Linked DNA regions of Homo sapiens: region 2 is linked to region 1. The links are contacts of gene promoters, found by promoter capture Hi-C in human tissues and cell types (Jung and others, 2019). All regions are on one chromosome and are shown on one strand. Each heading gives the region's core, a stretch centred on a gene start or on the middle of the fragment in contact. The rest is flanking DNA. Distances are from core to core; before and after follow the strand shown. Region 1 holds the start of TNFSF14 (TNF superfamily member 14). Region 2 overlaps LOC124904625 (a long non-coding RNA gene).

Evidence for each region. The method cuts DNA at HindIII sites, captures the fragments that hold promoters and counts their contacts. A contact is called where the count stands out against the background at its distance.
Region 2: a fragment that was not itself captured here is called in contact with the fragment with the promoter of TNFSF14 in region 1 in 2 of the 25 tissues and cell types used here (adrenal gland and bladder).

Annotation. Positions count from the first base shown.
Region 1 is chr19:6,667,401-6,673,984 of GRCh38, forward strand. It overlaps TNFSF14 (TNF superfamily member 14), which reads right to left and starts at 2,760. Exons shown (of 4, transcript NM_001376887.1): 1 at 2,451-2,760; 2 at 13-49. The coding sequence starts at 2,669. RefSeq lists enhancers at 1,280-1,369, 1,430-1,619, 2,520-2,609, 2,990-3,219 and a silencer at 3,790-3,889. The HindIII fragment of the contact is 26,746 bases long and covers 1-6,584 here.
Region 2 is chr19:7,087,775-7,094,640 of GRCh38, forward strand. It overlaps LOC124904625 (a long non-coding RNA gene), which reads right to left. Exons shown (of 3, transcript XR_007067110.1): 2 at 4,521-4,677; 3 at 269-1,677. It overlaps ZNF557 (zinc finger protein 557), which reads left to right. Exons shown (of 8, transcript NM_024341.3): 8 at 1-194. Among named protein-coding and RNA genes, the nearest start is that of ZNF557, 22 kb to the left of the region's middle. The HindIII fragment of the contact is 5,869 bases long and covers 1-5,733 here.

The DNA.
Region 1 (6,584 bases), core at 1,510-4,009:
ACCCTGACTCACCTTGTATCAGCTGCTCCCAGGAGCCTGCAGGTCCGTCCTGAAAATGCAGAAGGGGCCTGCGGTAAGAACCTGCAGCGGGGGCCACGCCCTCGCATTGCTCACACATGGCTATGAGACATGAGGACCATAGCCACCGACACCACCCTCAGACACGTACACAGGGCCACATACTCTCACTTGCAGACACACACCCCCTGTCCAGAGGCCTCACAACCACTTGGTGCCTCAGTTTCCCTCTATGTAAATGGAGTTACGAATCGTGTCTGCTTGGCGTTTAATGAATTCACATATGTAAGGCATTATTACAGTGCTTGGCACATAGTATGCACTAGAGAAAGGTTTAATAGGTCGGGTGCATTGGCTCACACCTCTAATCCCAGCACTTCGGGAGGCCGAGGTGGGCAGATTACCTGAGGTCAGGAGTTCGAGACCAGCCTGGCCAACACAGTAAAACCCTGTATCTACTAAAACTACAAAAATTAGCTGGGCCTGGTGGTGGGTGCCTGTAATCCCAGCTGCTCTGGAGGCTGAGGCAGGAGGATCGCTTGAACCTGGGAGGTTGCAGTGGGCCCAGATTGTGCCACTGCACTCTAGCCTAGGTGACAGAGTGAGATTCTATCTCAAAAAATAAATAAATAAATAAAAGGGTTTAATAAATAAATAACATTGCCCAGAGCAGTGGCTTACACCTGTAATCCCAGCACTTTGGGAGGCCAAAGTGGGAGGACAGCTTGAGGCCAGGAGTTTAAGACCAGCCTGGGCAACACAACAAGACCTCATCTCTACAAAAAATTTTTAAGATTAGCCAGGCATGGTGGTGCATGCCTGTAGTCCCAGCTACTCATGAAGCTGGGACAGGAGGCTTGCTTGAGCCCAGGAGTTCAAGGCTGCAGTGAGCTATGATCGTGCCACTCCACTCTAGCCTGGGAAGCAGAGTGAGACACAGTCTCTAAGATAAATAAATATGTAATTAATTAAATAAATAAGTAATATTTAAAAATACAGGGACAAGGCCAGGCGTGGTGGCTCACACCTGTAATCCCAGCACTTTGGGAGGCTGAGGCAGGTGGATCACTTGAGGTCAGGAGTTCGAGACAAGTCTGGCCAACATGGTGAAACCCCGTCTGTACTAAAAATACACAAATTAGCCAGGCACGGTGGCGGATGCCTGTGATCCCAGCTACTGCTCAGGAGGCTGAGACAAGGGAATCACTTGAACCTGGGAGGTGGGGTTGTAGTGAGCCAAGACTGCACCACTACACTACAGCCTGGGCTATGGGAGAGAAACCTTGTCTCAAAAAAAAAAAAATGCAGACAGCGAGATGGCTGGACACATGGACACCACCCTTGGGATATAGCACCTGCCACAGGGCACAGACCTCAACATCATCATGACGCTGAGAAGACACATGTGGGCTCAGATGCGTGGACATGTGGTTTGTGGTTTATGGATCCATGTGCGTCTACAGACACAGAGACCCAGAGACAAAGACAGACAACGTGAATACACCGGCTGCAGCTAGGCGGGTGTGTGGACATGTGGGTACACGCACATACGTCCACATGGGTATATGGACACGAATGTGTGGCCACCGGATCCAGACCCAGGACACAAAAGGGGCCAAGCCCACAGGGGTATGGTGTTGGGCACACATAGACCCCCAGGTGAGGCACACAGACAGGCGGACACATCCACAGCCAGCTGGAAGCAGACCGAGAAATTTCCACAGATGGAAATGGTCAGAGAATTAATGACAATCGCAGTAACAGTAATAAGAGTACCAGAGAAGGCCAGGCGCAGTGGCTCACACCTGTAATCCCAGCACTTTGGGAGGCTGAGGCGGGTGGATCTCCTGAGGTCGGGAGTTTGAGACCAGCCTGACAAACATAGAGAAGCCCCATCTCTACTAAAAATACAAAATTGGCCAGGCGTGGTGGCGCATGCCTGTAATCCCAGCTACTCGGGAGGCTGAGGCAGGAGAATCACTTGAACCCGGGAGGCAGAGGTTGCGGTGAGCAGAGATCATGCCATTGCACTCCAGCCTGGGCAACGAGAGTGAAACTCCGTCTCAAAAATAAAAAAGTACAGAGAAAATGCATGCGTGTGTGCACAGGGGTGTGCATGGCAGTGTTGGGGTGTCAGTTCCGACGGGTGGAGCTGGCATCGTCTGGTACTACACATGCCATAGCATACTTCGTCCCCTATGAAGAGACTGCCCTTATTTTGTAGATGAAGACACTGAGGTTCAGAGAGGTGAATTCACTTGCCCAAGGCTGGGAGCAGCAACCAGTCAAGCCAGCTGCTCTCAGCCTGTGCCCTGTCCTACACACACACACACACACACACACACACACACACACAGACACACAGTGACCCACAATGACACAGGGGAGCCCCCCTCACCTCCACCTGCTCTCAGCCCCCCGGTCCCACTCACAGGCAGGCGGGTGACCATCTCTCCTAGACGCCAGTGCAGCTGCAGGAGGAACCAGCCTTGGACGGCCAGCCCGGCCCCCATCAGCAACAGCAAGAGACCCAGACCCACCCGGGCCACACTGCACGACTGTCTCCGGTGGCTTCGTCCCAGCCTCGTGAATGGGATGTCGGTCTGTCCATCCACCACAAACACTGAGGGCCGTACGACACTCTCCTCCATGCCCAAGGTGTCTGGAGCAGGGCTGACACGCCTGGGTCCTTCAACCTCAGAGGAAACCGAAATTGCTCAACACTCCTGGGCTGTGCACGCTGCGGACAGGCACCCGTGGGCCGCCTTTAGAGCTGGGGTTCAGCCCCACCCCTTCCCCCACTCACCCTCCTCTTCTTCCGGTACCCGCCGCCCCCGGTCTTGGCCCTGTCTCACTCTCACTCATACAGACTCTCACACTTTCCAGAGGCTTCTGAAAATGTGACTCAGGTGGCAAGTGCAGTGGGGAGCCCCCAGCTTTCCCTTCTTGGATGCTTCATTCGCTTGGGGCCACCAAATATCGACTGAGGACTTTCTGCCCATGCCAGGCTCTGCTCTCGGTGTGGGGGATGCAGCAATGAACAACAGCAAGAAGGGTCCCTGCTCCTCTTCTGGTGGAGCCAGAGAGACAAGAAACCTCGTAAACAAGAAAATAATACGTTGTGGGTTTTTTTGTTCGTTTATTTGTTTTGTTTTTGAGATGGAGTCTCGCTCTGTTGCCCAGGCTGGAGTGCAGTGGCGCGATCTCAGCTTACTACAACCTCCACCTCCTGGGTTCAAGCAATTCTCCTGCCTCAGCCTCCCAAGTAGCGGGGATTACAGGCGCGTGCCACCACGCCTGGCTGCTTTTTGTATTTTTAGTAGAGATGGGTTTTCACCATGTCGGTCAGGCTGGTCTCGAACTCCTGACCTCAAGCGATCCACCCACCTCAGCCTCCCAAAGTGCTGGGATTACAAACGTGAGCCGCACCATGCCCGGCCTTCTGTTGTGTTTTGATGTGACAAGTGCAGTGAAAAACACAAGAGTGGAATAAAGGAGTGGATGTGTGCTCTGTGTGTGTGCTTGTCTGCATGCATATATGTGTGCAGTGTGTGCATGTGAATGTGTGTATTCAGTTGTGTGCATGCAAGTGTGTATCATGTACACATGTGCAGGCGCATGCCTGTGTATCATACATGTGCTGGCATGTAAATGTGCGTGCATATGTGGGCAGGTGCATGCATATGTGTATGGTCATCTGTGTGCATGTGCATGTGGTCCATGTACATGCATGCATGTGCACGTGTGTGTATGTGTGAACATGCATCACATGTGCAAGTGGGTGTGCATATATGTGCTGTGTGCAGGTGTGTGCATGTGTGTGTGCCTGTGCATTGGTGCGTGTATGTGTGTGTGCGCACTTGCACGGGTGTGTTCATGTGTGTGGGGAGGTCCATGTATGAGTGTGCATGCATTCAAGCGTGGATTTTTTTTTTTTTCGAGACGGAGTCTCGCTCTGTCGCCCAGGCTGGAGTGCAGTGGTGCGATCTCGGCTCACTGCAAGCTCCGCCTCCCAGGTTCACGCCATTCTCCTGCCTCAGCCTCCTGAGTAGCTGGGACTACAGGCGCCCACCACCGCACCCAGCTAATTTTTTGTATTTTTAGTAGAGACGGGGTTTCACCGTGTTAGCCAGGATGGTCTCAATCTCCTGACCTCGTGATCCGCCTGCCTTGGCCTCCCAAAGTGCTGGGATTACAGGCATAAGCCACCGCACCCAGCCTTTTTCTTTCTTTTTTTTTTTGAGGCAGAGTCTCACTTTGTCACCCAGGCTGGAGTGCAGTGGTGCCATTTTGGCTCACTGCAACCTCTGCCTCCCGGATTCAAGCAATTTTCCTGCCTCAGCCTCCTGAGTAGCTGGGATTACAGGCGCCCACCACCATGCATAGCTAATTTTTGTATTATATGTTGGCCATTATATATGTTGTAACATATATGTTGTCTATATGTTGGCCAGGCTGGTCTCGAACTCCTGACCTCAGGTGATCTGCCCACCTCAGCCTCCCAAAATGCTAGAATTACAGGCGTGAGCCACTGCACTTGGCTTCTGTCTTGTTTCATAAGTATCTTTGTAATATCCTTGATTTTACCTCTTGGCCCTGAAAGCCAAAAACACTTATGTGGCCCTTTATAGATACAGTTTGCTGCCAGCTTGCCCCTGAGCTTAGGCTAAGACACGAAGTGCCCTTCACTGGGGCCTCTGTGGTTGGACCCTCGTGCTTTTGCTCACTCTGCCCCAGACAGATATCCTGGGTCTTTGCACTTCCTCTTCCTGCTGCTGGGAACCATCTTCCCTAGATCTCCAAAGCAGGCTCCCCCTGCTCATCTGCGTCTTGACTCAAGAAACTTCTCACAGGAGCCCTCCCTGAATTGGTCAGGTGTCTCCCGAGAGACAGAACCAATAGAAGATACACAGAGAGATAGAGATGGGATCTATAGGCTGGGTGCGGTGGCTCACGCCTGTAATCCCAGCACTTTGGGAGGCTGAGGCATGTGGATCACCTGAGGTCGCGAGTTCGAGGCCAGCCTGGCCAATATGGGGAAACCCTGTCTCTATCAAAAATACAAAAATAAAAAATAAAAAATTAGCTAGGTGTGGTGGCACACTTCTGTAATCCCAGCTACTTGGGAGGCTGAGGCTCAAGAATCACTTGAACCCGGGAGGCACAAGTTGCAATGAACTGAGATTGTGCCACTGCACTCCAGGCTGGGCAATGGCATGAGACTGTCTCAAAAAAAAAAAAAAAAAAAGAGATCTGTAGAGACAGACAAAGATACAGAGTCAGAGAAGAGACAGACATGGAAAACTAGAGAGACAGGGACACAGAGATACAAAGACAGACGGAGAGAGAGAGAGAGAGAGATGTATAGAGTCAGAGAGAGTGTGTAACACATTTATTTTAAGAAATTAGCTCACACAATCATGGGAGTTGGCAAGTCTGAAGTCCACAGGACAAGCCAGTTAGGCTGGAGGCTCAGGTAAGAGGTGACACTACCGTCTTAAAGCCTAAAGCCTGGAAACTCAGGCAGAATTACTAAGTTGCAACCTTGAGGCAGAATTCCTTCTTCAGGAAACTTCGGTGTTTACTCCTCAGACCTTCAACTGATCAGGTGCGGCCCACTCACATTACCTAGGCTCATCTCCTGTCCTGAAAGTCAACTGTGGTTGTTGACATGATCTGAAAATTACCTTTCTAGCCAGGTGCAGTGGCTCACACCTGTAATCCCAGCACTTAGGGGGGCAGAGGCGGGAGGATTGCTTGAGCCCATGAGTTTGAGACCTGCCTGGGCAATATAGTGAGACCCCGTTCTCAACAAAGAGGAAAAAAAGAAAAAAGACAAAAAAGTAAAGAAATATAAAATACTTTTCTTTCTTTCTTTCTTTCTTTTTTGAGACAGAGTTTTGCTGTTGTTGGCCAAGCTAGAATGCAATGGTGCGATCTTGGCTCATTGCAACCTCAGCCTCCCAGGTTCAAGCGATTCTCCTGCCTCACCCTCCCGAGTAGCTGGGATTACAGGCATGCGCCACCAGGCCTGGCTAATTTTGTATTTTTAGTAGAGATGGGGTTTCTCCATGTTGGTCAGGCTGGTCTCGAACTCCTGACCTCAAGTAATCCACCCACCTCAGCCTCCCAAAGTGCTGGGATTACAGGCGTGAGCCACTGTGCCCGGCTAAAATACCTTTCTAGCAACATTTAGACTAGTGTTTTACCAAATGACTTCATATAGCCTAGCTTTGTTATCACATAAGTTAGCCCTCATGCCACTCAATCTAAGTGATCTTCTTAACCGCTGGACCCACTGCATGGGTGAACTTTTCTTTTTGGACATCCTCACCATCCAAAATCCATTCCACACTGTCTTCTTTTTGGGGGAGCCGGTGTGGGGGATGGAGTCTCGCTTTGTTGTCCAGGCTGTAGTGCAGTGGCCCGATCTCAGCTCACTGCAACCCTCCGCCTCCCAGGTTCATGCGATTCTCCTGCCTCAGCCTCCCGAATAGCTGGGATTAGAGGTGCCCGCCACCACGCCTGGCTACTTTTTTGTATTTTTAGTAGAGATGAGGTTTCTC
Region 2 (6,866 bases), core at 1,549-4,048, 420 kb after region 1:
CCTGTTTATTGATCTGTTTTTATAAGTGCTCCATGATTCTCTGAAAACAGTATACTATGTATCTAATTTTTGGATACAGGATGGACATACGTACTCAAACTGTGTTTTTCAATTTGTACTGTATTTGTTTCTCTCGACCTGACTTAGTGATAGAGGTATATTAAAGTCTTCCACTAGCATGGTAGATTAACAAATTCTTTCTGTAATTCTGTCATTTTTACTTTATATATGTTTATGTGTAATGTAACTAGGTGCGTAGAGGTTTAGATATTCTCCTGTGAATTTATTTATTTTCAGTAGGGGCCATACCTTTTCATACCAAATAATTGTAATATGAAAATATATTAACAAAAAGAGATCAAACATTTCGCTAGCCCATCCTATAGACCAGGCGCTCTTCAAAGTGCCTTATAAATATTAACTGCGTCCTCACTATAAGCTTGCAAACTGTGCTATTACTGTCTCCAACTTACAGATGGGAAAACTGGCATGGAAATGTCTAGGTTGCTTGCCTGAGTTCACCAGCTAGTAAGTGGTAGAGCACAGATTGGAATCCAGACAGGTGATTCTCATAACCACTAGCCTGTTCATTGAGTACATTCCATGTGGCTAAGCACTGTTTGAGATGCCATGTCTAGAGCAGTGAATGAAACTCAAGTTTTGCCATTGAGGCACTTACATCCTAACGGGGAGGGGTGAATTATAGAAAAATCAACAACATGGCCGGGCGCTGTGACTCACGCCTGTAATTCCAATACTTTGGGAGGCTGGGGCAGATCATGAGGTCAGGAGTTTGAGACCGGCCTGACCAACATGGTGAAACGCCATCTCTACTAAAAATACAAAAAAATTAGCTGGGTGTGGTGGTGCGCTCAGCTAATCAGGAGGCTGAGGCAGGAGAATCGCTTCATCCTGGGAGGTGGAGGTTGCAATGAGCCGAGATCGCGCCACTGCACTCCAGCCTGGGCAACAGAGCAAGACTCCATCGAAAAAGAAAAATCAACAATATTCATGTTGTGCAGAAAAATAAAGCATTGTGAGAGAGTTACGGAGGGCTGGGGACTTTCCATTTTATGTAGCATAGGAAGGAAAAGGCCCCCAGTTAAGGTGCATTTGAGGAGAGACTATTGAGTAGGAACTTGTGGCAAGAGGACTGTTGGCATGCAAAGACCCACAGCACAGAGGCCAGTATGACTCAGGTAAAATAGGGATTCAGGGATTAGAGGGTAATCGGAGATGCAGATCCTGATCTTGTGGGGTTTTATAGGTCATTGTTAGGGCTTTTCCTTACATGTTCAGGAAGTTGGAATATCAAGAGTCCCAGCAGGAAACAGTTGACACACACGTCAACTGGGATGATTCAAGCGCAGTTTATATCAAGGGGCTCCTCACAGAATTGTGAACAGGATGTAGGGAAACCACAAAAGGTACTTGAAATGGAACATCGGTCTTCTCCCCACCTCAGATACGGGTGCTTCTGGTTCTCCAGCCTTCAGACTCAGACTCGCAACTTACACCATTGGCCCTCCTGGTTCTCAAGCCTTTGGACTTCACACTGGGGTTTACACTGTTGGCTCCCCTGTTTTCAGGTCTTTGAGCTTGGACTGGAGCAAGACTACCAGCTTTCTTGGTTCTCCAGCTTCCAAACAAATGGCAGATCGTAGGACACCCATAAGCCTGAAGGGACAAAGGAAGAGAACTGCAAGTTGTTGTTCAAGCGAGGAGAGGGCTGCATTCCAGGAGCTGACAGGAGGTCAGTGAGGGGCAACATCCAGCCTCGAGTTCTGCAAGAAATAGTAAGGGTCGGCCAGGCACAGTGGCTCACACCTATAATTCTGGCACTTTGGGAGGCCGAGGTGGGTGGATCACTTGAGATCAGGAGTTCAAGACCAGCCTGGCCAACATGATGAAACCCATTCTCTACTGAAAATACAAAAACTAGCCGGGTGTGGTGGCATGCGCCTGTAGTCCCAGCTATTCAGGAGGCTGAGGCAGGAGAATTGCTTGAACCCGGTAGGTGGAGGTTGCAATGAGCCAAGATCATGCCATTGCACTCCAGCCTGGGTGACAGAGTGAAACTCCATCCCCACCCCCCCACCACCACCAAAAAAGAGAAAGAAATAGCCAGGGCCAGCCCTCCTTGTCCTTCATTCTTCTTATATCATATTTGGGTTCCCCATTTGCCAAACTCAACCAAAAGCCAATAAGGTAAGGGAGTTCGTTGATAGCATTCATAGTAACTAATCATCCCAAGTACAGCAGGGTAGAGGAGGTGAATCTGCTGGGGCGAATGGAAGATACCCAGTATTGGTCACTCCTTTTGCTTCTCAGAATCTACTCATGCCCATCACCTGGATGGAAAGTTCATATCCAAGCCCAGGAATTCTATCAGTTGCTCAGCTACCCTGGGGTGGTGTCCATGCACTGATACTCCCCGATGAAGCCTAACATAGTTGCCAACACCAGTGTTTCCTGTATAGGATGAGGAACAGAGCCATTGGGGAGGAAAGCAAAAGAAATAATTAACCTGGCCAGGCGCAGTGGCTTACCCCTGTAATCCCAGCACTTTGGGAGGCCGAGGTCGGTGGATCACGAGGTCAGGAGTTTGAGACCAGCCTGGCCAACATGGTGAAACCCCGTCTCTACTAAAAATACAAAATTAGCCAGGCACAGTGGTGGGCGCCTGTAATCCCAGCTACTCAGGAGGCTGAGGCAGGAGAATCTCTTGAACCCGGGAGGCGGAGATTGCAGTGAGCCGAGATCATGCCACTGCACTCTAGCCTGGGTGACAGAGTAAGACTTCATCTAAAAAAAAAGAAAAAAGAGAAGTAACCTAAAGGACTTGGTTCCCAGAGGGAAACACTTCCACCAAGAGACACAGTAAGAGTCTCATCGGATGTTAAACTGTGACTTCTATGAGACCAGCACACAAGGAAAGAAGTCACCATACTGACTTAGGTAATTAATGCTATCATCCATAGAATCTGAGGCTGCTGTTACATGATGAGTGCAGGGAGGAAAACATTTGGCATTCACGGAATCCATTGGGATGTCTCTTACTATTCTTTCCCCAATTTTAAAGATAAAAAAATTTTGGCCAGGCGTGGTGGGTCACGCTTGTAATCCCAGCACTTTGGGAGGCCGAGGTGGGCACATCACAAGGTCAGGAGATCGAGACCAGCCTGGCTAACATGGTGAAACCCTGTCTCTACAAAAAATACAAAAAAATTAACTGGGCGCGTTGGCAGGCGCCTGTAGTCCCAGCTACTTGGGAGGCTGACGCAGGAGAATGGCGTGAACCCAGGAGGCGGAGCTTGCAGTGAGCCGAGATCGCGCCACTGCACTCCAGCCTGGGCAACAGAGCGAGACTCTGTCTCCAAAAAAGAAAAAGATAAAAAAATTTCACCAGCTATGTCCTGAGAAGGGCATGGTGAAGACCCCGTAGGCATAAGGATCTGGAGCAGCTCTCCAGGTAAGCCACCTAGACCAGCAGGATCTAGGTGAGAAGGAAATCTAGAATTTTCACCCTAGTCAAGGGTAAAGGGAATCTGGAAGGTGCAAGTAAAGGAGTGTGATAAGCATCAATTGCATCTCTGAGACTTGTTCAGGTGGAAAGGGCTGTCTACAGTTTGTCCCACTGATCTTCCTCTTGTCAGTTTCTCCAGGCAACGGGACCAACCTGGATCCTGAGGGCACTTACTTTAAGAATCCTGGGGCCGGGCACAGTGGCTCACGCCTGTAATCCCAACACTTTGGGAGGCAGAGGCGGGCAGATCACTTGAGGTTAGGAGTTCGAGACCAGCTTAGCCAACATGGTGAAACCTCATTTCTACTAAAAATACAAAAAATAGCTGAGTATGGTGGCACATGCCTATAGTCCCAGCTACTCCAGAGGCTGAGGCAGGAGAATCACTTGAACTCAGGAGGCAGAGGTTGCAGTGAGCCAAGATGGTACCACTGCACTCCAGCCTGGGCAACAGAGGGAGACTCTGTCTCAAAAACAAAACAAACAAAATGAATGCAGGGCATCTGAGTGGCACACATGGTGGACCACAGTAGGTACAGTGGTGGCACTACCCAGCAAAAGAGCTCTTCACCCAATGTGCTAGAAGCCAATACTATGACATCAGATTTTTGAGAAAAGGAAAGGTTTGTATTGCAAGTTAACAAGGAGACAGGAGTCCAGCTCAAATTTGTCTTATGCTGACTTTAAGGCAATAATTTTCTTAGAAAAGGTGTAGGGCGTGGATTCTGGGATTAGCAGGCGATTGGTGGGAGGAAAGGTCTGTTAAGTCCTCAGGCAGGTGCAATGATCTCTTCATGCCTCCCCATGGGTTCCATGTGCAAAGTCATACTAACTCAAGGGAGTTTGTATGAAACACGTGGAAATTTGCACTGTGACATCAGCAAGCTCATTCTGCACAAACTCCATTTGGCCATGTGGGTTCTCACAGATTTTAGGCAGTTTTGTTACAAGTGGAGGCAGTTTCAGCGTTTTAGCAAGTTATTTCTTTTTTTACCTGCCATCCTGCAAACTCAATGAGAGGTGAAGCCAGCTGGACTTCCTGGGTCGAGTGGGGACTTGGAGAACTTTCCTGTTTTACAAGAGGATTGTAAAACACACCAATCAGCACTCTGTAGCTAGGATTGTAAACCGCACCAGTGAGCGCTCTGTAGCTAGCAAGAAGATTGTAAAATGCACCAATCAACAGTCTGTAAAACACACCAATCAGCAAGATCCTGAAAGCAGCCAATTGCAGGGAGGATTGAAAAAAGGGCACTCTGATAGGACAGAAACAGAACATGGGAGGGGTCAATAAGGGAATAAACGCTGGCCACTCCAGCCAGCAGCGGCAACCAGCTCGGGTCCCCTTCCAAGCTGTGGAAGCTTTGTTCTTTTGCTCTTCACAGTAATCCTTGCTACCGCTCACTCTTTGGGTCTGTGCCATCTTTAAGAGTGAAGGTCTGTGGCTTCTTTCTTGAAGTCAGCGAGACCACGAACCCACCAGAAGGAACCAGCTTCCAACACATCAAGAATTTCTGCTAGTCTTTGCTTTAACACTTTAGGCATGGTTTCAGTGGCATATTTCCCAGATTCTTCCTTTAAGACTAAGGCACTAAGGCCAGGCGTGGTGACTCACGCCTGTAATCCCAACACTTTGGGAGGCTGAGGCAGGTGGATCACGAGGTCAAGAGATCAAGACCATCCTGGCCAACATGGTGCAACCCCGTCTCTACTAAAACTACAAAAATTAGCTGGGCGTACCTGTAATCCCAGCACTTTGGGAGGCCAAGGCCGGCGGATCACGAGGTCAGGAGATAGAGACCATCCTGGCTAACACGGTGAAACCCCATCTCTACTAAAAATACAAAAAATTAGCCAGGCATGGTGGCGGGCACCTGTAGTCCCAGCTACTCGAGAGGCTGAGGCAGGAGAGTGGCGTGAACCTGGAAGGCGGAGCTTGCAGTGAGCCGAGATGGCGCCACTGCACTCCAGCCTGGGCGACAAAGACTCCATCTCAAAAAAAAAAAAAAAAATTAGCTGGGCGTGGTGGCGTGTGCCTGTAGTCCCAGCTACTCAGGAGGCTGAGGCTGGAGAATCGCTTGAACCTGGGAGGCGGAGGTTGCAGTGAGCCAAGATCTTGCCACTGCACGCCAGCCTGGTGACAAAGCAAGACTCCATCTAGAAAAAAGAAAAGACTAAGGCACTCCCCTAGCTGCTGGAGGTGTTGCCTGATGATGGTGATGCTGCTGTCCTCTCTGGGAACTCCCCAAGGCCCAGAGGAAAGTGCCCAACCCAAGATTATGCTCTCTCTCCAGGGGTTGCCTACTTCCAGTGACTGGTTGATGTAGGGGGTACAAAGGTCCAGTGCCTTTGTTTCAATGTAGGACACCCCTGAAGGGCAACCCCAGCACCAGAACTCCCTGTGGGATCGACGGCAGCCTCAGTTGACAAGTTACATGTCAGCCTCATCTGTCCCCTCCGCTTCTCGCATGCCTTTAAAGATGTTGTTCCCAGGAGTTTTATCCAATAAACAAAAAATTGCCAGCACAAAATCTGTTCCCAGAAAACCTGATCCGAGATAAGATCACTCTATCAGGGTAAAGAATCCATTCAGGGCCGGTCTCAGGAGATCGAGACCATCCTGGCTAACACAGTGAAACCCTGTCTGTACTAAAAATACAAAAAATTAGCCGGGCGTGGTGGCGGGCGCCTGTAGTCCCAGCTACTCAGGAGGCTGAGGCAGGAGAATGGCGTGAACCCGGGAGGCAGAGCTTTCAGTGAGCCGAGATCGCGCCGCTGCACTCCAGCCTGGGCGACAGAGTGAGACTCCATCCCAAAAAAAAATAAAAATAAAAATCCATTCAGATAAGGGACTGGCAGAGAGAAAGCAGAATGTGGAATGGATGTGGAAGAATTAAATTCAGTCCTGAAGACCAGGTCCCAAAGCAGGAATAGAAGACAGCTATGCTTTGGGTTTGGGTTTTTTAAAAAATCTTTAATTTTTTCCGCTTTTTCCCTGGTTCCCCACCACCACCATCACCATTTTATATGAAGAGTCCTGGTTGTGGCCAAAGCTTAAGGTTTCTGATGGGAATACGACCAAATGACATTATCCCAACAGTAGCTTCCTTTGTATCTCTTTTTTTTTTTTTTTTTTTTTGAGATGGAGTCTCACTCTGTCACACAGGCTGGAGTGCAATGGTGCCATCTCTGCTCACTACAACCTCCGCCTCCTGGATTCAAGCGACTCTCCTGCTTCAGCCTCCCGAGTAGCTGGGACTACAGGCACACGCCAGCACACCCGGCTAATTTTTGTATTTTTAGTAGAGATGGGGTTTCACTATGTTGGCCAGGCTGGTCT